Regions from separate parts of the Homo sapiens genome. Here all the other regions are linked to region 1. The links are contacts of gene promoters, found by promoter capture Hi-C in blood cells and fetal thymus (Javierre and others, 2016). All regions are on one chromosome and are shown on one strand. The core of a region is centred on a gene start or on the middle of the fragment in contact, and the rest is flanking DNA. Distances in the headings are between cores, read along the strand shown. Region 1 holds the start of GAB2 (GRB2 associated binding protein 2). Region 2 overlaps INTS4 (integrator complex subunit 4). Region 3 holds the start of KCTD14 (potassium channel tetramerization domain containing 14). Region 4 overlaps NDUFC2-KCTD14 (NDUFC2-KCTD14 readthrough). Region 5 overlaps ALG8 (ALG8 alpha-1,3-glucosyltransferase). Region 6 overlaps KCTD21-AS1 (KCTD21 antisense RNA 1).

Region 1 (3,293 bases), core at 255-2,754:
GACTTAAGGATCCCTAAATTGTAAGGTTAAGGGAGCTGTGGTCCCAGCCTACCAGTTCTGGCTTTACTTCCCATCCAGCAGCACACTGGATATTGAAGAAAGTCAGTGAAATGTTAGATCCAGGGGACTGACCGCTAAAACTCCCAGGGTATCTAGAAGAGCTAAGTACGTGGTAGGGGATTCGCTTTTCCAAATTGAGGAGGGTGAACTTCCCCCAACCCAATCAAGATCTTTTGGACCAAATGATGTCCAACTGCTTGAAACAACTCAGCTGCACAGAGACAGAAATAAACAAAACAGCTTTAGTCTGAGGTTGTGTGGGGCACTGCAAGATGCTGCTTCTCCAATTCATCTGTCCACACAGCACGGTTCCCCATTGAATAAACAGGTTACTATCCACTTATCAGAGAAGTTAGGGAGGACCTGCCTTTTAATGCTGCTTAGAGAGACACTTTGTGATGAGAAAAGAGCTCGTACAAAAGATTTTTTTCTCCCCCCTCCCGCTGAAGTGCTGGGGTTGTGTGCTTCCACGTACATCTGGGATACCATTATATTTACAAACAGAGGTCTCATAGCCTGTGTCAATGAGCGGGAACGTTGGGGAATTTGGACCCCAATTTCTTGTTCTTCTGCACTTGACCTTGCCTTCCAATTCGTTATGAAATACATTGACTAGTTTTGCTTCTTCCATTCTACAAATCATGCGAATTTTCTATACTAAACTGTGTTTTCCCAGAGGCAGTGTAGGAGGGAGTCAGCTGGACTTGGTTTCCAGGCAATGAGAGGCTCCCAGGTCGATCCCATTAAGGCAATGCCCTCATTTTGAATAGCAGATGACCGGGACCCCTCCTCCCCCACACACCTGAATTGGAAAATTGGCTCGGCTTTGTACAAGCCCTTGCCCTTAGGCTGTCCATAAAATAGGAACAATACTGAAGACAATCCTGTAAGCTACAAAAGCAAAGGCTCCGGCGCGTAGTAGGTCCGTCTCCTCCTCCCGCCGAGGGACGCCAGAGTTAAGGAGCTTCTTGCTGGGAAGGGGTCCCTCCTTTCAGCCGGAACCTGACCCGCAGAATGTATCGGAAATGTGAGCAGCCCTAGTATCCCTTCCCCGTCGACGCTCGGTGAAAAATCGATCGACGACCGAGGGCGCGCAGTCCCTTCCCCTCACACCCGCCAGCGCCAGGGGCGCGGTCGCCTCCCTGGCCTCCGCGCCCGCGGCTTGGGGCCTCAGGAGAAAGCGAGACTCCGGGGCGCGCCGGCGGCGGTGGCTTTCTGTATCCTCGCGGGTCCCTAGCCCCGCGTCCGCGTGCGCGGCGGCCTCGGGGGCGCGGCGGGAGCGGGCGTGGCGAGCGAGCCGGCCTTCCTGCTGCAGCTGCTCCCCCGGCGGCCGGGCGGAGAGTGCGGATTGCGCGCGCTCGGGGCGGGGGAGCGGGCGCGCGCGAGGCTGCCGGGCTCGCGCCGCGCCGCGCCGCCTAGTCCCCGCCGGGCCGCCCGCCCCGCCCCTGGCCTCCCGCGAGCTGCGCACCGCCGGCCGCTGCCCCAGCTGCCCGAGCCCGCGCCCTCGTCCGCGCGACCCGGCGGGGGGCTCCAGGCCGGCAGCATGAGCGGCGGCGGCGACGTGGTGTGCACCGGCTGGCTGAGGAAATCGCCTCCCGAGAAGAAGTTGAGGCGCTATGTGAGTGCGGGCGCGGCCGCCCAGGGGCGGGCGGGGGGCGCTCCGGGGCCTGCGGAGGGGCGGGGGACTCCCGGAGGGGCGGCAGGCTGGGGAGCTCGGGCCCGGAGCCGCGGGGGGCCGGGGGCGAGGAGCGGCCGGGGGCGTGTGGGGCACCTGCACACCTGTCACAGGTGGGCCGCCGAGGGGCGGGGCGGGCGGCAGGTTGAGGCTGCGGCTCCTGCTCCGCCAGGCGGGTGCGGCTGCGGCGCCTCCCAAGCCGGTCTGCTCGTGAACTAAATACAGTGTCGAAGTTTTGTATTGATGGCTTCTGGAGACCGAGAGAGTTGACTCTCGGGGCTGGGGCTCCGCGGCAGCCCCGAGCAGCTTCAGCCCGCAGGGTCGGGGAGAGGGCGGGAAAGGGGGGCGTAGGCTGTGGGGCCGCGCGGACGGCCCCACAAAGGGCGAGCGCCTCACGCCCTCTCCTTCCCTTTCTCCGCCTGCCCCTCCCGGCCGCCGGCCTCCCTCCGTCCGCGGCTGCATCACCGGCAGCGTCAGCGGCATGTGCAGCCCTTGTATTAAGTGACTCATTTGTTTGTCCCCCTTCTTTCCCTTTATTCCGTTCGTCTCTCACAGGCGCCTCCCCCCGACCCCGGTGTGACACTGCAGTTTGGTCCCCGTGGCTGGCCCGGGTTTGGGACCGGGCAGCTCCCGGGTGTCTGGGGTCGGGAGAGATCGAGGCTCTCCGCGGCCAGGTGTTGCCAACCGACAGTGTTTACTGAGATCGCTGGAACAGCCTTTTCCCTCTAGGTGGGGAACTGGCAGCCTGGGGGAGGTGGAACAGCGTGGCGCTGAGCCGTGGAGTTCTGGCTTTTTTTTTTTTTTTTTTTAACCCCTCTCCCCAGAGGATGCCTTGCCTGGTGAGGTCAAAGTACAAGATGGTGCCAGTTACTGAGATTTGGCCGAAATGGTCTTGGGGTAGTCGCGGGAGTTTGGAAGTGGGGGTAAGGTTGCTGGAAGGTTTCAAGGTCTCTCATCTGCTCCCTCTCCGTTTCCCATGAAATGCCCTTGTTTAACGGGCTGTGGTGCCGAACTCCGGGATCACTCCCACAGCCTGGAAGGGAGCCGTTGCCTCCAGCTGCAGTGCATCAAGGGAGCTCGGAATAGACCCTGCCCTCTGTCAGCTGCACCAGTGGCTGTCCATGGGGGGAGAGGCAGAAGCCTACCAGAATTTCCTGTCTTGGCTCCCCAGATCAGAATCAAGGGACTTCTGGCCTCTGGACTGAGGAAGTGACATTCTGTTTTTCAAAGGAAGTGTTGTTGTTGCGGAGTACAAGTGTGTGTCAATGAAATCAGGCTCTTAGGTAGATGTTTGCTGGGGGAAAAAAATCTAAGGATTTAGCACATGAGTTTTGAAAGTGGACGTGGATTTATAGGAGGAATGAAGCAGTGAATTGTTCATCTCAGTTCGGAAGCTCATTTTTAGGAGTGTCTATGTAGCCAAAGTATAATTATTAAGAAATAAACTTTTTTCCTCTTCAGGGTTGTATCAGTTCGTTAGGAAGGTTGAATATTTTAATTAGGATTAAGGAGCAGTGATTTACTATTAACAATTTTATAAATAATTTAAAAACTTTGT
Region 2 (3,293 bases), core at 388-2,887, 430 kb after region 1:
TGAATCGCTTGAACGTAGTAGGTGGAGGTGGCACACACCTATAATCCCAGCATGTTGGGTGTCAGTCAGAGAATCATTTGAACCTAGGAGGTGGAGATTGCAGCAAGCCAAGATTGCACCATTGCACTCCTGCCTGGGCGACAGTGTCTTGCTCTGTCTCAAAAAAATGGAGTAGATCCTTTGTGTGACCTCTAAACCCAAAGGCTACCACAATCCTCAGAGATAGGTAGAGCAAAATGTTAGTGTAAGGCTGGGCACCGTGGCTCATGCTTGTAATCCCAGCACTTTGGGAGGCTGAGGTGCCAGGATTGCTTGAGCCCAGGAGTTAAGACCAGCCTGGGCAACATAGAGAGACTCCATCTCTAAGAAAAAAAAAAAGTATACCTATTTTACAGAGACATAAACTGAGACTCGGAGAAATTAAATGACTTGCCTAAAGTCATAGGAACTGGTAAAGGCAAAATTGAGACTCATGGCCTTGTCACCAACCCGGTACTCTTTCTGGTTTATAATACTGTATTTTCCTAAGTCCATCAGCTAAATATATTATTTGGTATAATGGAAAATCATTTCCACCAAATGAGGCAAAGTTAAATTTGCAGATTCTGTGTTTTCGATTTTCTCTACCCCTTGCAGCCACAGGAGGAAATTGCTACTAAGAAACTCCGACTAACAAAACCAAGTAAATCTGCAGCACTCCACATAGATCTGTGTAAAGCTACCTCCCCAGCAGATGCTTTGCAATACTTGCTCCAGTTTGCCAGGAAGCCTGTCGAGGCGGAAAGCGTAGAGGGAGTAGTCAGGATTCTCTTGGAACATTATTACAAGGTAAGAAAATCTTGAGGATCTGATGGGAGTATATCATGGGAGTTGTATCATGTCTGCAGAATGGTTAATATTACAAATAAATAGGGTATTCATTAGGAAGCTTTTATTGAGTGTCTTCCAAGTGCTAGGTACTATGGATACCGAGATAAAAAAGATACAGATCTTGACCTCAGAAAGTTATACTGTGTATAGTAGATGGAAACAAGACATGTCAATGATAAGGTGCATCATACTGCTGAAGTTACTGTGAGTGCAGTATGTGCAGAGTACAGTGGAAGCACAAAAGAGGAGTAAATATCAATCATGACCCATTCATCTCTGGAATGTGGTCCTGCTGTTCCTTTCCTAATTCATGGCCCTCATATCTAATTGCAGTGGCCCTCTTTTTTAATTAAAAATACATTTTTTTTTTTTTTTTTTTGGAGACAGAGTCTCGCTCTGTTGCCCATGCTGGAGTGCAGTAGTGCAATCTTGGCTCGCTGCAACCTCTGCCTCCTGGGTTCAAGCGATTCTCCTGCCTCAGCCTCCTTAGTAGCTGGGATTACAGGCACGTGCCACCACACCCTGCTAATTTTTGTATTTTTAGTAGAGACGGGGTTTTGCCATGTTGGCCAGGCTGGTCTCGAACTCCTGACTTTAAGTGATGCAGCCACCTTGGCCTCCCAAAGTGTTAGGATTACAGGCGTGAGCCACTGCGTCTGGCCAAAAAAACTGTTTTTGAGACAGAGGCTCACTGTCACCCAGCCTAGAGTTTAGTGGCATCATCATAGGTCACTGTAGCCTGGAACTCCTGGGCTTAAGTGATTCTCCTGGCTCAGCCTTCCACGTAGGTGGGACTGCAGACGTGCCACTACTCCAGGCTAAGTTTTGCATTTTTTTTTTTTTTTTTTTTGAGACTTGGTCTGTCACTCAGCCTGGAGTATAGTGGTGGCACAATCTTGGCTCACTGCAACCTCCGTCTCTTTGGTTTAAGTGATTCTCCTGCGTCAGCCTCCAGAGTGGCTAGGACCGCAGGTGTGTGACACCACACCCAGCTAATTTTTTTTGTATTTTTAGTAGAGGTGGGGTTTTGCTGTGTTGGCCAGGCTGGTCTTGTACTCCTGACCTCAAGTGATCCATGCACCCTGGCCTCCCAAAGTGCTGGGATTGCAAGCGTGAGCTACCATTCCCAGCCCAAAAATCATTATTATTATTACTATTATTATTTTTGAGATGGGGTCTTGCTTTCTCGCCCAGGCGGGAGTGCAGTGGTGCTATCACGGCTCACTGTACCCTCGACCTCCGAGGCTCAATTGATCCTCCTGCCTCAGCCTTCTGAGTAGCTGGGACTACAGGCATGTGCAGCATGCCTGGCTAATTTTTGTATTTTTTTTTTTTTTTTGTAGAGACAGGGCTTTGCTATGTTGCACAGGCTGATCTCGAATTCCTGGGCTCAAGCAATCCACCCTCCTTGGGCTTCCAAATTGCTGAGATTACAGGTGTGAACCACCACACTCAGCCCCCAAATTGTTAAGCTTATGGAAAAGTAGATAAAATACTATAGTGACCTACCAAATATCCATTCCTAGAATTTAACAGTTATTAGTATTTTGCCAAATTTGCTCTATTTTTTCGCTGAATTTTATTTTATTTTGTTATTATTTTTTTTGAGATGAGTCTCACTCTGTTGCCCAGGCTGGAGTGTAATAGCACTCCTGGGTTCAAGCAGTTCTCCTGCCTCAGCCTCCCAAGTAGCTGGGACTACAGGAGTGCGCCATCACGCTCAGCTAATTCTGTATTTTTAGTAGAGATGGGGTTTCACCATGTTGGCCAGGCTAGTCTCGAATTCCAGACCTCGGGTGATCCACCTGCCTCGGCCTCCCAAAGTGCTGGGATTACAGGTGTGAGCCACCGCGCCCAGCCTTGTTTTGTTGAATTTTTAAAAAGATATGTCATTTTTTTCTAATTATTTCATTACATATCTATTAAAAAGGGATACCTTTTTGTTGTTTTCTTTTTTTTTCTCACTGCTATGAGAAAGTAGAGGGACTTTTTATTTTTTAACATAGCCACCTAACCCTAATGAATAAAGTTAAGTAATTCTTTAATGTCATCTAAGAATTAGTTGATATTTAGATTTCTGTAGTTGTTCTCCCAGTACCTTTTTATAGTTGATGTATTCAAATCAAAATGCAAACCAGGTCCCCACATGGCATTCAGTCTTTTCAAAAATCTACAACAGTTACTATTTTGGTGACATTGATTTGATGAAGAAACTGAGACAGTTCTTTTGTAAAATGTCTTGTTTTCTGAATTCATTTACTTCTTTAAGGATTAACTTGTTCCTCTGTTCTCTGTATTTACTATGAACTGAAAGTTAGATCTATAGGCTTTGTTAGATTTAAGTTAAGCATATTTTTGACAATTTTAAGACTATGTTATAAATGGTGACTTGTACTTCATATTGCAGCTATCAGCATGCAAAT
Region 3 (3,293 bases), core at 229-2,728, 390 kb after region 1:
GGCTGGTCTCGAACTCCTAACCTCAGGTGATCCACCTGCCATGGCCTCCCAAAGTGCTGAGATTACAGGCGTGAGCAACCGTGTCCAACCCTATTCCGTTAGTTCTGTCCCTCTGTAGAACCCTGACTAATAGAGTCATTTCTGGTAAATGCTAATGTTAGACAGAAACGAAACTTAACATTAGCCAACCACAAGCAGCCAACTAACATACAATTAAGTAGCTGTGGACTTTTCAACAAAGGAAACCAAAAAAGGAGATTTTTTAACTGTAACCAATTTTATATATATATATGTATATATATATATATGTGTGTGTGTGTGTGTGTGTGTGTGTGTGTGTGTATATATATATATATTTTTTTTTTTTTTTTTTGAGAGGGAATCTTTGTTGCCCAGGCTGGAGTTCAGTGGTGCAATCTTAGCTCACTACAATCTCTGCCTCCCGGGTTCCAGCGATTCTCCTGCCTCAGCGTCCACAGTATCTGGGATTACAGGCACATGCCATCACACCCAGCTAATTTTTGTATTTTCAGTAGAGACGGGGTTTCACCATTTTGGTCAGGCTGGTCTCGAACTTCTGACCTCAAATGATCTGTCCGCTTTGGCCTCCCAAAGTGCTAGGATTACAGGCGTGAGCCACCATGCCTGTCCCCAACAAAATATCTTGCTTCCATATTCTCCCCATAAATATTTGCCTCTGATGCATTGTCATGGGAACACTCAACCTCTTTCCATCTGGTGTTCCCCGATTCAAGAATTGCCTGTTACTCAAGTATACTCTTAAAAAAGTTTTGTTGATCCTCAGACTTTACATTTTAACACCACCCTACCTCCTAGAGCGCCAGTTTTCTGATCTGTAAAATGGGTGTTGCGGATCTTTCACTCCCTAGGACTGTAGGGAATAGAAAGTCTCTGGTTGTCAATGTCAGTCAATGTCAATTCCTTCTGCCTCCCCCATTTCACTACTGGGAACTCCGAGGCCCAGAGAGGGGCATTAACTAATGTCAACTTTAATAACGGGATTCAAGCAATATGTTTAAGTAATTTATTTAAGCGTAAAAGAAAATATAGGAAGAGGCAAGTTGCCGTGGCTCAGGCCTGTAATCCCACCACTTTGGGAGGCTGAGGTGGGAGGATCACTTGAGCCCAGGAGGTTGAGGTTGCAGTGAGCCTGATCCGCCACTGCACTTCAGCCTGAGCGATAGAGTGAGACCCTGTCTCTGAAAAAAAAAAAAGAAAGAAAGAAAGAAAAGGAAGGAAATTAATCTATATCAAAAGGTCAGTCCTTAAGGGGTCTGCTCCATTTCTCGGTCTCCAAAGTCAGCCCTTCTCAGGGCCTAACAACTTTTAGAAGCCCCAAATAGACAGACTGTCCATTTCTTTCTGCACTTGGCCCAGTCTCACTGCAAGCCACGCCTGGCTCAGCCCCGTCCCGCCTTGAGCCTCGGTGTTCCCACCTAGGGGCGGGCAGCCAGGGGCACTTCCGCTGGCCCAAGTGATCTGCATGTGGCAGGGCTGCGCAGTGGAGCGGCCAGTGGGCAGGATGACGAGCCAGACCCCTCTGCCCCAGTCCCCCCGGCCCAGGCGGCCAACGGTAAGTGCGAGGCTAGCTGCGTCCCCGCGCCTCTGTCCTCCGCCTCTTCCCTCCGCCTCTTCCCTCCCTTCCAGTTTCTCCTGCCCGTCCCTCCCAGACGCCCGAGCCCCCTGCTTCTGGCGCGCTGTCCCCCTTCACCTCGGGCTGGTCGCTCTCTTCAATCTTTGCCGTCCCTCCTGCTGGGATCACTCTCCTTTCGCGCCTCGGTGTCCCTTTCTGGTTTGGCTCTGTCCAGCCTTTCCTCTTTGCCCTTTTGCTTCCTCCCTCTACATTGGGTCTTTAGTTCCTTTCCCTTGTCTCTTCCCCACCGGCTTGTCCTAGCCCACGACTCCTCCTCTGCCCCACCTTCTCCCTTGCTCCCGGTGGGAGAAGCCCATCCAACCAGCTCGGCCAGAGGATCTTTCCCTCACCTGCAGCCCTCTCCAGCCTGCCCCTGCCCCTTGGCTGGGTCTTCAGCCTGCCCCTGCCCTCTGGCTGGGTCCCAAATCCCTCTGCTTGCCTGCCTGGTCCCCAGCTTGGGTGAGGGGAGTTGGGGAGGAGGATGGGGAAAAGGCTGCGTGCACTCTGGGAGCAGAACATTCGGGTTCTCTCCTGCACTGAGAGTCATCCTGAAGACCTGGAGGAAGAGAAAGCAGATCCAGCAGCAGGGCAGCGTGGCTCTCTCTAATAGGGCCATGATCACGTCATTGTTGTTGGCTATTGACAAAGCCACATGCCTAGTGCCAGGACCACCCTAGGTGTTCCATAAATGCCTGAATGAATTACTGGGGAAGTGTAAGGCACTGTGCATGATGCCAGGTAGGGCAAGATTGGCCTTGAACAGAATACTAGATGCTCCTGTAAATCAGAGGATATTCCCCTCCCTTAGGAGCCTCACAGAGTTTTTGTTTGTTTGTTTGTTTGTTAAAATAGAGATGGGGTCTCGCCATGTTGGTGAGACCCAGGCTGGTCTCAAACTCTTAGGCTCAGGCAATCCTCCTACCTCAGCCTCCCAAAGTGCTGGGATTACAGGCATGAAACACAGCACTTGGCCAGGAACCTCACAGTCAATGAAGAAACAGGGAATTGCAAGGGAAGAACTGCCAGGCCAGTGGAAGTATAGTAGTGTAGGACTTTCTGGGATCACAGTGAGACAACCCACCCCGAAGGACTCCCAGAGGAATTCATCTGAAGGATGAGTGGGGTCAGAGAAAGGAGTGCGGATGGCCAAGTGAGTGAGCTTCTGGAGGTGAGGGGGCTTGCCCAGCTCTGGATTGGAGGAGTGGGGAGCAGCAGGCAGTTCTGGTAGTTGATTGCGAGGGGTGAAGTAGCAGCCTAGTTGCAAAGGGCCTCTAAACCTTGTTATGGAGTCTGCTGTTTATCTGGAAGGGAATGAAAAGTTACTCAAGTGTTTAATGCAGGGAGTGACAGGATCAGATTTGTACTTCAGAAAACGTACTCTCAGCCAGGCGTGGTAGCTCATGCCTGTAGTTCCAGCACTTTGGGAGGCAGAGGTGGGTGGACCACCTACCTCAGGCGTTCGAGGCCAGCCTGGCCAACATGGCAAAACCCTGTCTGTATAAAAAATAGAGAAATTAGCTGGACATGGTGGCACACACCTGTAGTCCCAGCCACTCTGGAGGCTGAGGCAGGAGAATCGCTTGAGCCTAAGAGGTGGGGGTTGCAGTGAGCCGAGATTGTACCACTGCACTCCAGCCTG
Region 4 (3,293 bases), core at 401-2,900, 370 kb after region 1:
CTCTGCACATGCCGGTAGCCAGCCCCAAGGGAAGAATAGGGGGAGAAGGGACACAAGACCCCAGAAGTTTGCCAATGTATAAATCCCCAAGTCAAAAGGTTAAACAGTGCACTTGGCTTGGCTTTCAAGTCATTGGCTTGACCCTCTTCCAAGTGTACTTTCTTTTTTTTTTTTTTTTTTTTTTGCAACAGAGTTTCGCTCTGTCACCCAGGCTGGAGTACAGTGGCACGATCTCGGCTCACTGCAACCTCTGCCTCCTAGGTTCAGGCGATTATCCTGCCTCAGCCTCCCGAGTAGCTGGGATTACAGGCACATGCCACCACACCCGGTTGATTTTTGTGTTTTTATTAGAGACTGGGTTTCACTATGTTGGCCAGGTTGGTCTTGAACTCCTAACCTCACGTGATCTACCCGCTTCAGCCTCCCAAAGTGCTGGGATTACAGGCGTGAGCAACCACACTCAGCCCCAAGTGTACTTTCTTTCCTTTCCTGCTCTAAAGCTTTTAATAAACTTTCACTCCTGCTCTAAGACTTGTCTCGGTTTCTCCTTCTGCCTTATGTGCCTCAGTCGAATTCTTTCTGCTGAGGAGGCAAGAACTGAGGTTGCGGCAGACCCATACGGATTCGCTGCCGGTCACGCTCCTTGTATTAATTTTGTATTGCTGTTGTAACAGATGAACACAAACCTAGGGGCTTAAAGCAACAGACACTTATTACCTTATAATCCTGGAGGTCAGAAGTCCAACATGGGTCTCACCAGCGTAAAATCAAGGGGTCAGCAGGGCTGCCCTCCTTTCTGGAGGCTCTGGGGAGAATTCGTTCCTTGTCTTTTCTGGCTCCTAGAGGCTGCCCGCACTCTTTGGCTTGTAATCTTTTCCTCTGTGTTCAAAGCCAGGAACACCTTTTCATGCTGCCTCTCTGGTTCTCCCTCTTCCAGTTACATTGGGTACTGCTGGATAATTCAGGATAATCTTTCCATCTTAAGGTCAGCTGATTAGCAATCTTAACTCCATCTGCCCCCTTAATTTCCCTTTGCCATGTAACCTAACATTTACAGGTTCAGGAATTAGGAAGGTGGCATCTTTGGGGGCCATTATTGTGCCTATTACACTCATCCCTTTCAATTTTGTTTTTATATGCCATGGTATTTTTTTTCTTTCTTTTTTGAGATGAAGTCTCGCGATGTTGCCTAGGCCGGTCTCGAGCTCCAAGGCTCAAACCATCCTCCCACTTCAGCTTCCTCATTAGCTCAGACTGCAGGCGCCTGTTACATTGCTTTGGTGCCTTGTATTTTTGTTTTGTTTTTATTTTATTATTTTATTTTTTTGTTTGTTTTTGGTTTTGAAACGGAGTCTCACTCTGTCGCCCAGGCTGGAGTGCAGTGGTGCAATCTCAGCTCACTGCAACCTCTGCCTCCTAGGTTCAAGTGATTCTCCTGCCTCAGCCTCCCGAGTAGCTAGGATTACAGGCGTGAGCCATCACACCCAGCTAATTTTTGTATTTTTAGTAGAGACGGGGTTTCACCATGTTGGTCAGGCTGGTCTGGAACTCCTGACCTCAGGTGATCTGCCTGCCTCGGCCTCCCAAAGTGTTGGGATTATAGTCATGAGCCACTGCACCTGGCCTGTTTTGTTTTTTTTGAGTCAAGATCTCACTCTGTCACCCAGGCTGGAGTACAGTGGCATAATCACGGCTTGCTGTAGCCTCAACTTCCCAGGCTCAAAGGATTCTCCCACCTCAGCCTTCCCGAGTAGCTGGGACTACCGGCATGTGCCACCAAGTCCAGCTAATTTTTTTATTTCTTGTAGAGACAAGAAATATAATTTGGCTGGGCACAGTGGCTCACGCCTGTAATCCCAGCACTTTGGGAGGCCGAGGCAGGTGGATCATGAGGTCAGAAGATCGAGACCATCCTGGCTAACATCGTGAAACCCCGTCTCTACTAAAAATACAAAAAATTAGCCAGGTGTGGTGGCAGGCGCCTGTAGTCTTAGCTACTCGGGAGGTTGAGGCAGGAGAATGGCGTGAACCCAGGAGGCGGAGCTTGCAGTGAGCTGAGATTGTGCCACTGCACTCCAGCCTGGGCAACAGAGCGAGACTCTGTCTCAAAAAAAAAAAAAAAAAAAGAAATATAAGTTTCGTCACATTGTCCAGGCTGGTCTTGAACTCCTGGCCTCAAGTGATGCCCCTACCTCAGCCTCCAAAAGTGCTAGGATTACAGCCATGAGCCACCGTGCCTGGCCAGGATATAGTATATTTAATAAAATATATACCTATTAAAATTTTTCTGGCTGGGTATGGTGGGCTGTAATCCTAGCACTTTGGGAGGCCTGGGTAGGAGGATTGCTTGAGGCCACGAGTCTGACACCAAGATGGGTGACATAGTGAGAGGCCCCATCTCTACTAAAAAATATTTTTGCAACCTGGGCAGCATAAAGAGACCCCATCTCTACAAAAAATTTAAGTTAGCTGGGTGTGGTGGCATGCGCCTATGGTCCCAGCTACTCAAGAGGCTGAGGCAGGAGGATTGCTTGTGCCCAGGAGGTCAAGGCTGCAGTTAGCCGTGATCATTGCCACAGCACTCCAGCCTGGGCTACAGAGCAATGCGCTGTCTCAAAAAAACCCCCAAAATTATGATTTCATGTATCTGTATATTCTTTATACCTACACAGGTAGTAAACACAAACTTAAACGTTGGAATGAAAAAGCAAATTGAAGGAGCCATCTGGGTGGAGGGAGGGGAAAAAAGGAAGCGTACATGAGTACTTTATATTCATTAGGTCTTATTTCCCAAGCTTAGTAATGGCTACATGAATATTTATATATTCATCATCTAATATTTTTGAATAGATTAAGTACTTATAACAACAGAAAAGGAAAAGTGAGAAATGTTTTCTAGGAATAAATGCAAGCCTCAGCAAAAGTTCAGAGGCATGAAATAGCAAGATACATACATACATATATACTGATGATTCTCCAGCATGCCTGCACTCTCTCCCAAACTCCACCATAACTTCCAAATCTTTGCTCACCTCTTCCTAACCTCGCCCCCTTAAGTCCAGCCTCAGCCCCCGCGCTGACATTTTCGCCAGATCAGCCCCCTTCCCCTTTAGGATAGGCTCTCCTCTCATTGCAAGGTGCGCCTCTTATCGTGGGTGGCTCAATCCATGCATGTATGCCTGTCCCCAAAGAACTGCAAACTCTGGGAAGGTTGGACTCCCAGCCCCAGGCTCAGGGCTCCGGTTCAGGCGGGGCCCCCGCCGTCGCGGCTCCGGCCAGCAGAGGGCGCTGCC
Region 5 (3,293 bases), core at 206-2,705, 310 kb after region 1:
ATGTACCACCACGCCCAGCTAGTTTTTTTTGTATTTTTAGTAGAGATGGGGTTTCACTATGTTGGTCAGGCTGTTCTTGAACTCCTAACCTCAAGTGATCTGCCTGCCTTGGCCTCCCAAAGTGCTGGGATTATAGGCATGAGCCACCATGCCCAGCCAGTAGAATTAATTTTAATGAGTTAAATATATACATCAAGGCTAGGTGCGGTGGCTCAAACCTGTAATCCCAGCACTTTGGGAGGCCAAGGCAGGCAGATCACGAGGTCAGGATTTTGAGACCAGCCTGGCCAACATGGTGAAACCCCGTCTCTATTAAAAATACAAAAATTAGCTGGGCGTGGTGGCAGGCACCTGTAATCCCAGCTACTTGGGAGGTTGAGGCAGGAAAATCGCTTGAACCCAGGAGGTGGAGGTTGCAGTGAGCCGAGATCGCACCACTGCACTCCAGCCTTGGCAACAAAGCGAGACTCCGTCTCAAAAAAACAAAAAATTATATATATATATATATATATATATTTACATATAAAATATATTTATTTACATATAAAAATATATATATACACATCAAATGCCAATTTTTTCTGAGTTGTTGCTTTTATGTTAACTTTTGTTAGACTGTGCACAAAGTGATGAATGATTCGGTTTCATGAAGAATTGTCTAAGATTGGCTGTCTTTCAGAGATGATGCAAATTGTATTCACCTGAACTCTGTTTCTGTAAAGTCTGTTTCAAATGATACTGAAGTTTATCTTTGCCTGTTGTTTCTAGCCCTCTATTTTCTGTCTTTGGTTTAAACCCCAAGGGCCCAGAGGCTTTCTCCGATGTCTAACTCTTTGTGCCTTGAGCTCCTTTATGTTTGGGTGGCATGTTCATGAAAAAGCCATACTTCTAGCAATTCTCCCAATGAGGTAAGCAGATAGCTCAGCCAGTGAGCATTTTGGCATATTTCACAATGATCCTATTTTCTATTTGCTCTGTCCCTTCTTGTCATGTTCACCAGGATAGGCAAAAACAAAGATGTATAGGAACAGATGTCCACTAGGACAGGACAGGGATGCTTAACTTGAGATTCTTGGACCCATGAAGGTATGCAAAAATGCATGTACTATTTCTGTTTCTGCGTTTTTGGAAAGAAGCACTGTAGTGATTAAGTACCATGAAAGCCGGCTTTTAGATCTGATCATTGAGGGACAGTATGTTATAGAAAAAACCTGGGCTGGCCGGGCGCGGTAGCTCACGCCTGTAATCCCAGCACTTAGGGAGGCCAAGGCGGGCAGATCACGAGGTCAGGAGATCGAGACTATCCTGGCTAACATGGTGAAACCCCATCTCTACTAAAAATACAAAAAATTAGCTGGGCATAGTGGCACATGCCTGTAGTCCCAGCTACTCGGGAGGCTGAGGCAGGAGAATTGCTTGAACCCGGGAGGAAGAGGTTGCAGTGAGCCGAGATCGCACCACTGCATTCCATTCTGGGTGACCGAAGGAGACTCTGTCTCAAAAATGAAAAAAAGAAAAAACTTGGGCTTTGGTGTCATCCCGTCTGAAAATAAGGTCCCATGGTTCCTTGTTAAGTGTTGTTAGTCAAAGTAAGGATTTAGTCTATTCTGGAATAATACCTGATACTGTACTACATTTCAGATTTTCCAGAACTGTTTTTGTTTTGCATTCTTTCTTTTGCGCCTCACAATAATCTTTAAGATAATTGGCCAGGCATGGTGGCTCACATCTGCAATCCCAGTACTTTCGGAGGCTGAAGCGGTGGTTCACTTGATGCCAGGAGTTTGAGATCAGCCTGGCCAACATGGCAAAATCCCATCTCTACTAAAAATACAAAAATTAGCCAGGCATGGTGGTGCATGCCTGTAATCCCAGCTACTTGGGAGGCTGAGGCATGAAGATCCTTTGAACCTGGGAGGTGAAGGTTGCAGTGAGCCAAGATGGCGCCACTGCACTCCAGCCTGGGGCAATAGAGTGAGACCCTGTCTCAAAAAAAGAAAAAAAAAAAAGATAGTTAAAATAAATGGGTATTATTCCCTTTTTTTTCCTTTCTTTTTTTTTTTTTTACTTTTTGGTAGAGACAGGGTCTTGCCATGTTGCCTAGGCTGGTCTCAAACTACTGGGCACAAGCAGTCTTCCTACCTCAGCCTCCCAAAGTGCTGGGATTGCAGATGTGAGCCAACAAAACAGGCTTATTCCCTGTCTTAACATCTGAAGAATCTAGGGCTCAAAATGTTTGTGACTTGTCCAAAGTCATACAGGTCGCAAGAATTAGAGTTAGGACCTGAATCTTATGATGTTGAATCTATGATCTTTTCACTATGCCATGCTAAAAAAACCATTTTAAATGTAAGTGTCCAGTTTAGGCATAGTTGAAACCCAATAGATAAATAAATGGTAATAATAGCCTCTTTCTTTATATTTTTCTTGAATCTTGAGAAATCATTTAAGCTCTGAACATATATTAAGCAAATTTGTCAGGCCAGTATGTGGCTTGTCTGGGTTTATTTAGCAGCTTGGAGTTTCCAAATTAAAAAGTAAAGCAAAAACTTTTAATGTCTTTAGTCTGAATTCACACCAAACACCAGCAGGTGAAGGGCATTGTCCAAGAGATGAGCTATAGGGTTGGAAATGAAACTCCAAGTCCTGTTTCCCTGACTGCCACCACTAGGCAGCTCCCAATCCCACAACATTCCTGTCTTTGGAGAAGGCAATTACTCAGGGAAGCAAGATTCTTTTTTTTTTTTTTTTGAGACAGAGTCTCGCTCTGTTGCCCAGGCTGGAGTGCAGTGGCGCGATCTCGGCTCACTGCATCCTCTGCCTCCCAGGTTCAAGCAATTCTCCTGCCTCAGCCTCCTGAGTAGCTGGGATTACAAGCACCCGCCACCATGCCCAGCTAATTTTTGTATTTTTAGCAGAGACAGGGTTTCACCATGTTGGCCAGGCTGCTCTTGAATTCCTGACCTCAGGTGATCCTCCCGCCTCGGCCTCCCAAAGTGCTGGGATTAAAGGCATGAGCCACTGTCCCCGGCCAGAAGCAAGATTCTTTTACGATACCCCTGATTCAGTTTGATACATGCTATTGATTGCTTAAAATTTCCTACTAAAAAATTAATATTCTCAACTAAATTGAACTTGTGCCAAAATCAGCATGTTCTTCTATGCCTCAGCCAGTTCTAATGTAATAGGAGATGCAGTTTATTTAAGCTATTTGCAAGTGTAATAACAGTTGTTGTTTTAAGAAATTATTTTTATTTTTAGCCTTTTGTCTGTGGGAAAAGCAGGAGACGCTT
Region 6 (3,293 bases), core at 209-2,708, 270 kb after region 1:
GCTTGGATTATCAAGTGTTTGCAGAGAACGCAGCCAACTGCCATACTGAAGACGACCGTATGACAAATTAAATTTACACAAGGGCATTTTAAGTGGGCTTGAATGGTGCAAGGGTTGGACTCTGTCAAACACCTCTCATGTCCCACTTCATATCTTGTCAGTCTCACCTCTTATTCCAGCCATTGTGCAGCAGTGACCATCTTCATGAAGATGTAACCTGAAAATGCCTGGCCTCAGGCCCGTCTCATGTCTTTCATTTTCTGCCTTCCAGTCTCTTTGAGCTGCCATGCCTGATGTCTGTGGGAGTCCACTTAGCACTCATTTACAGGAAACATAAATGTTCCCTAGGGCCAGTCTTGACCAATGGGAGAGGGAAACTGATGGATAACCTTTTCTCCCTCTCTTCCCCTGAGCAAGACAGTCCTTAAATGCATCCTATATGGTCTCTCAGAAGGTCTCCCATGCTTGAGTAATCAGTTGTCCTCAGTAGTAGTTAATATCTTATCCTTATATTTGCACTCCCTATTTCATTTTCTGCAAGCATAGCTCCTGCTTCCTGAGATCAGCACAGCAAATTAAACTACTCACACATAAGCCTTTGTCTCAGGCCCTGCTTTGGGGAGAATATAGGCTAAGACAAATGCTTTAAGGCCATAAACAGAATTGAGAGGGTATTTCAGACTTCTGCCTTCAGGGACTGGGGGTTGGAGTCAAAAGTTTTTCTCTATTGTGCTCCAAGGTTAAATAAACAATGCTGTTGGTCATAAAATGTCATCCACATTTTCTTCCTGTGAAATAGGGTCACTTGATGATAATCAGCAGTCCCTTTGCTCTTAGAACATTTTGCTTTCATCCTTCTCCTGGTTGATATTAATGGTCTTTATAAAATTGATATTGATATGATCTGATGCTGATAAAGAGGAATTTGGGCTGGGCACAGTAGCTCATGACTGTAATCTCAGCACTTTGGGAGGCCGAGGCGGGCAGATTGCTTGAGCCCAGGAGTTTGAGACCAGCCTGGGCAACATGGCGAAACCTCAGTTCTACAAAAAATACAAAAATTAGCCAGGTGTGGTGGTGCACCTATAGTCCTAGCTACTCCGGAGGCTGAGGTGGGAGGATGATTTAAGCCTGTGAGGTCAAGGCTGCAGTGAGCTGTGCCCACTGCACTTTGGCCTGGGCAACAGAGTGAGACTCTGTCTGCCCCTACCCTCCCACTCCACCAAAAAATAAAAACAAAAAGAGAGAGTGGGATTCAAATACCAAGGTGCACCTCAATGAAGTCTAGATTCCTCTGGGCTTCTGATCAGTGCACCACAAAATTCTGAACACTCATGAAGACAAGATAGGAGGCTAGGTGCAGTGGCTCACGCCTGTAATCCCAGCACTTTGGGATACCAAAGGGGGAGGATCACTTGAGGTCAGGAGTTCCAGACCAGCCTGACCAATAGAGAAACCTTGTCTCTACTAAAAATACAAAAATTAGCCAGGCGTTGGGGCGGAAGCCTATAATCCCAGCTACTGGGAAGAATGAGGCAGGAGAATCGCTTGGGCCCAGAAGGAGGAGATTGCAGTGAGCCGAGATCATGCCACTGCACTCCAGCCTGGGAGACAGAGCGAGACTCCATCTCAAAAAAAAAAAAAAAGACAAGATAGGAGACTCCACAGCAAACACTTCCAAGTCATGGGCAAAGGTCTGGTGGCTAAATAGGGGAAGACATTTTTTTCTTTTCCTTATTTAGTCTCTCCTCAGAACACAAATTGGGAGCTTGAAGAAAGAAATAGTGTAATGGTTATAGATGCAGATGCTGCCATCTGATGGGCTGGGTTGAATCCTGGCTGCATCACTTACCAGCAGTGAGTACCCGAGTGAGTTCCTTAACTCTCCAGTGCTCTATTTCCTCACAATGTTTACATAAATGAGATGACTTATGTATCACACTTCACCCAGTGTTTGGTATCTAGTAAGTGTATGCTATTAATAATAATTGAATCATTGCTACTATTCATATCCTAGTTCACATGGAGCTTGGCAACAATGAAATCTAAGGTTCTGTGTGTTATACCTGTTTTTTTTTTTTCCATATTTTAAGTTACCTCATAACCCTTAAAAGCAAAGATTACTGAAATGTGTGTCCTGGCCCCGCCCCAATAACAAAATATAGGAAAGGAGCTGTGGGACACCCTTTGGCACTCAAATTAAGATCTTAGTTTTCCAGCCTAGCCAACATGGTGAAACCCTGTCTCTAAAAAAATACAAAAATTAGCTGGGCATGGTGGCACGCGCCTGTAATCCCAGCTACTTGGGAGGCTGAGACGGGAGGATCACTTGAACCTGGAAAGTGGAGGTTGCAGTGAGCCAAGATTGCGCCACTGCACTCCAGCCTGGTTGACAGAGCGAGACTGTCTCTGGGGGAGCAGGGAGGCGGGAAGAAAGATCTTAGTTGTTGTGCCAGGTGCGGTGGCTCACGCCTATAATCCAAGAACTTTTGGAGGCCGAGGTGGGCAGATCACTTGAGATCAGGAGTTTAAGACCAGCCTGGCCAAAATGGTGAAACCCCATCTCTACTAAAAATACAAAAAATTAGCCAGGCATGGTGGTACGCACCTGTAATCCAGCTACTTGGGAGGCTGAGGCAGGAGAATCACTTGAACCCAGGAGGCGGAGGTTGCAGCGAGCGGAGATCGTGCCACTGAACTCCAGCCTGGGATACAGAGCGAGACCCTGTCTCAAAAAAAAAAAAAAGATCTTAGATGTTGGCTAGGCATAGTGGCTCACACTTGTAATCCCAGCACTTTGGGAGGCCAAGGAGGGAAGATTGCTTGAGGTTGGCAGTTCAAGACCAGCCTGGGCAACATGGCAAGACCCATCTCTACAAAAAAAATTTTTTTAATTAGCCAGGTGTGGTGGCACGTAACTGTGGTCCCAGCTACTCAGGAGACTGAGATGGGAGGATCACCTGAGAACAGGAGTTTGAGGCTGCAGTGAGCTATGATCACACCACTGCACTTACATACATACATACATACTTACATTAGTTATTGACACAGAGGCTTAGTGATATCAATGAGCTAAGAACGAATGAAAACTGATCAGTTACTCCTTGGAAATCCTGGCCTCTGAGGACTCATGGTAGATAGCTCCAGTGAAGGCCTCAAACAGTGAAAAAGCAACTATGACCAAAGCCTTGCTACGAATACTACACGGGGAGCCAAGATCACGCCACTGCACTCCAGCCTGGGCAACAGAGTGAGACCCTGTCTTAAAAAAAACACAAATACTACATGGGGTT

Evidence for each region. The method cuts DNA at HindIII sites, captures the fragments that hold promoters and counts their contacts. A CHiCAGO score of 5 or more calls a contact.
Region 2: a contact is called between a fragment that was not itself captured here and the fragment with the promoter of GAB2 in region 1, in 1 of 17 cell types (activated CD4 T cells). The highest score is 5.0, in activated CD4 T cells.
Region 3: a contact is called between the fragment with the promoter of KCTD14 here and the fragment with the promoter of GAB2 in region 1, in 10 of 17 cell types (naive CD8 T cells, erythroblasts, non-activated CD4 T cells and 7 more). The highest score is 10.5, in naive CD8 T cells.
Region 4: a contact is called between a fragment that was not itself captured here and the fragment with the promoter of GAB2 in region 1, in 7 of 17 cell types (activated CD4 T cells, non-activated CD4 T cells, naive CD4 T cells and 4 more). The highest score is 7.8, in activated CD4 T cells.
Region 5: a fragment that was not itself captured here is called in contact with the fragment with the promoter of GAB2 in region 1 in 1 of 17 cell types (neutrophils); the score reaches 6.1 in neutrophils.
Region 6: a fragment that was not itself captured here is called in contact with the fragment with the promoter of GAB2 in region 1 in 13 of 17 cell types (naive CD4 T cells, non-activated CD4 T cells, activated CD4 T cells and 10 more); the score reaches 11.9 in naive CD4 T cells.

The regions. Positions count from the first base shown.
Region 1 is chr11:78,416,031-78,419,323 of GRCh38, reverse strand. GAB2 (GRB2 associated binding protein 2) reads left to right here and starts at 1,504. Exons shown (of 10, transcript NM_080491.3): 1 at 1,504-1,678. The coding sequence starts at 1,604. RefSeq lists silencers at 1,115-1,734, 1,845-1,944, 2,015-2,144, 2,607-2,901 and an enhancer at 1,764-2,518. The HindIII fragment of the contact is 5,597 bases long and covers 1-3,293 here.
Region 2 is chr11:77,988,643-77,991,935 of GRCh38, reverse strand. INTS4 (integrator complex subunit 4) reads left to right here. Exons shown (of 23, transcript NM_033547.4): 2 at 637-828. Among named protein-coding and RNA genes, the nearest start is that of INTS4, 4.4 kb to the left of the region's middle. The HindIII fragment of the contact is 1,414 bases long and covers 931-2,344 here.
Region 3 is chr11:78,021,461-78,024,753 of GRCh38, reverse strand. KCTD14 (potassium channel tetramerization domain containing 14) reads left to right here and starts at 1,478. Exons shown (of 2, transcript NM_023930.4): 1 at 1,478-1,594. The coding sequence starts at 1,505. All of the region lies in intron 2 of NDUFC2-KCTD14 (NDUFC2-KCTD14 readthrough), which reads left to right. It overlaps LOC124902723 (a long non-coding RNA gene), which reads right to left and starts at 2,211. Exons shown (of 2, transcript XR_007062795.1): 1 at 1,733-2,211; 2 at 1,032-1,220. RefSeq lists enhancers at 984-1,551, 1,552-2,121, 2,122-2,689. The HindIII fragment of the contact is 5,224 bases long and covers 1-3,293 here.
Region 4 is chr11:78,046,362-78,049,654 of GRCh38, reverse strand. The region is part of intron 1 of NDUFC2-KCTD14 (NDUFC2-KCTD14 readthrough); the gene reads left to right. Among named protein-coding and RNA genes, the nearest start is that of THRSP, 16 kb to the left of the region's middle. RefSeq lists a silencer at 3,177-3,293. The HindIII fragment of the contact is 2,295 bases long and covers 503-2,797 here.
Region 5 is chr11:78,104,422-78,107,714 of GRCh38, reverse strand. It overlaps ALG8 (ALG8 alpha-1,3-glucosyltransferase), which reads left to right. Exons shown (of 13, transcript NM_024079.5): 10 at 769-908; 11 at 3,262-3,293. Among named protein-coding and RNA genes, the nearest start is that of NDUFC2-KCTD14, 26 kb to the right of the region's middle. RefSeq lists a silencer at 2,518-2,812. The HindIII fragment of the contact is 7,219 bases long and covers 1-3,293 here.
Region 6 is chr11:78,148,409-78,151,701 of GRCh38, reverse strand. KCTD21-AS1 (KCTD21 antisense RNA 1) reads right to left here. Exons shown (of 3, transcript NR_102281.1): 2 at 2,609-2,725. Among named protein-coding and RNA genes, the nearest start is that of KCTD21-AS1, 10 kb to the right of the region's middle. The HindIII fragment of the contact is 9,693 bases long and covers 1-3,293 here.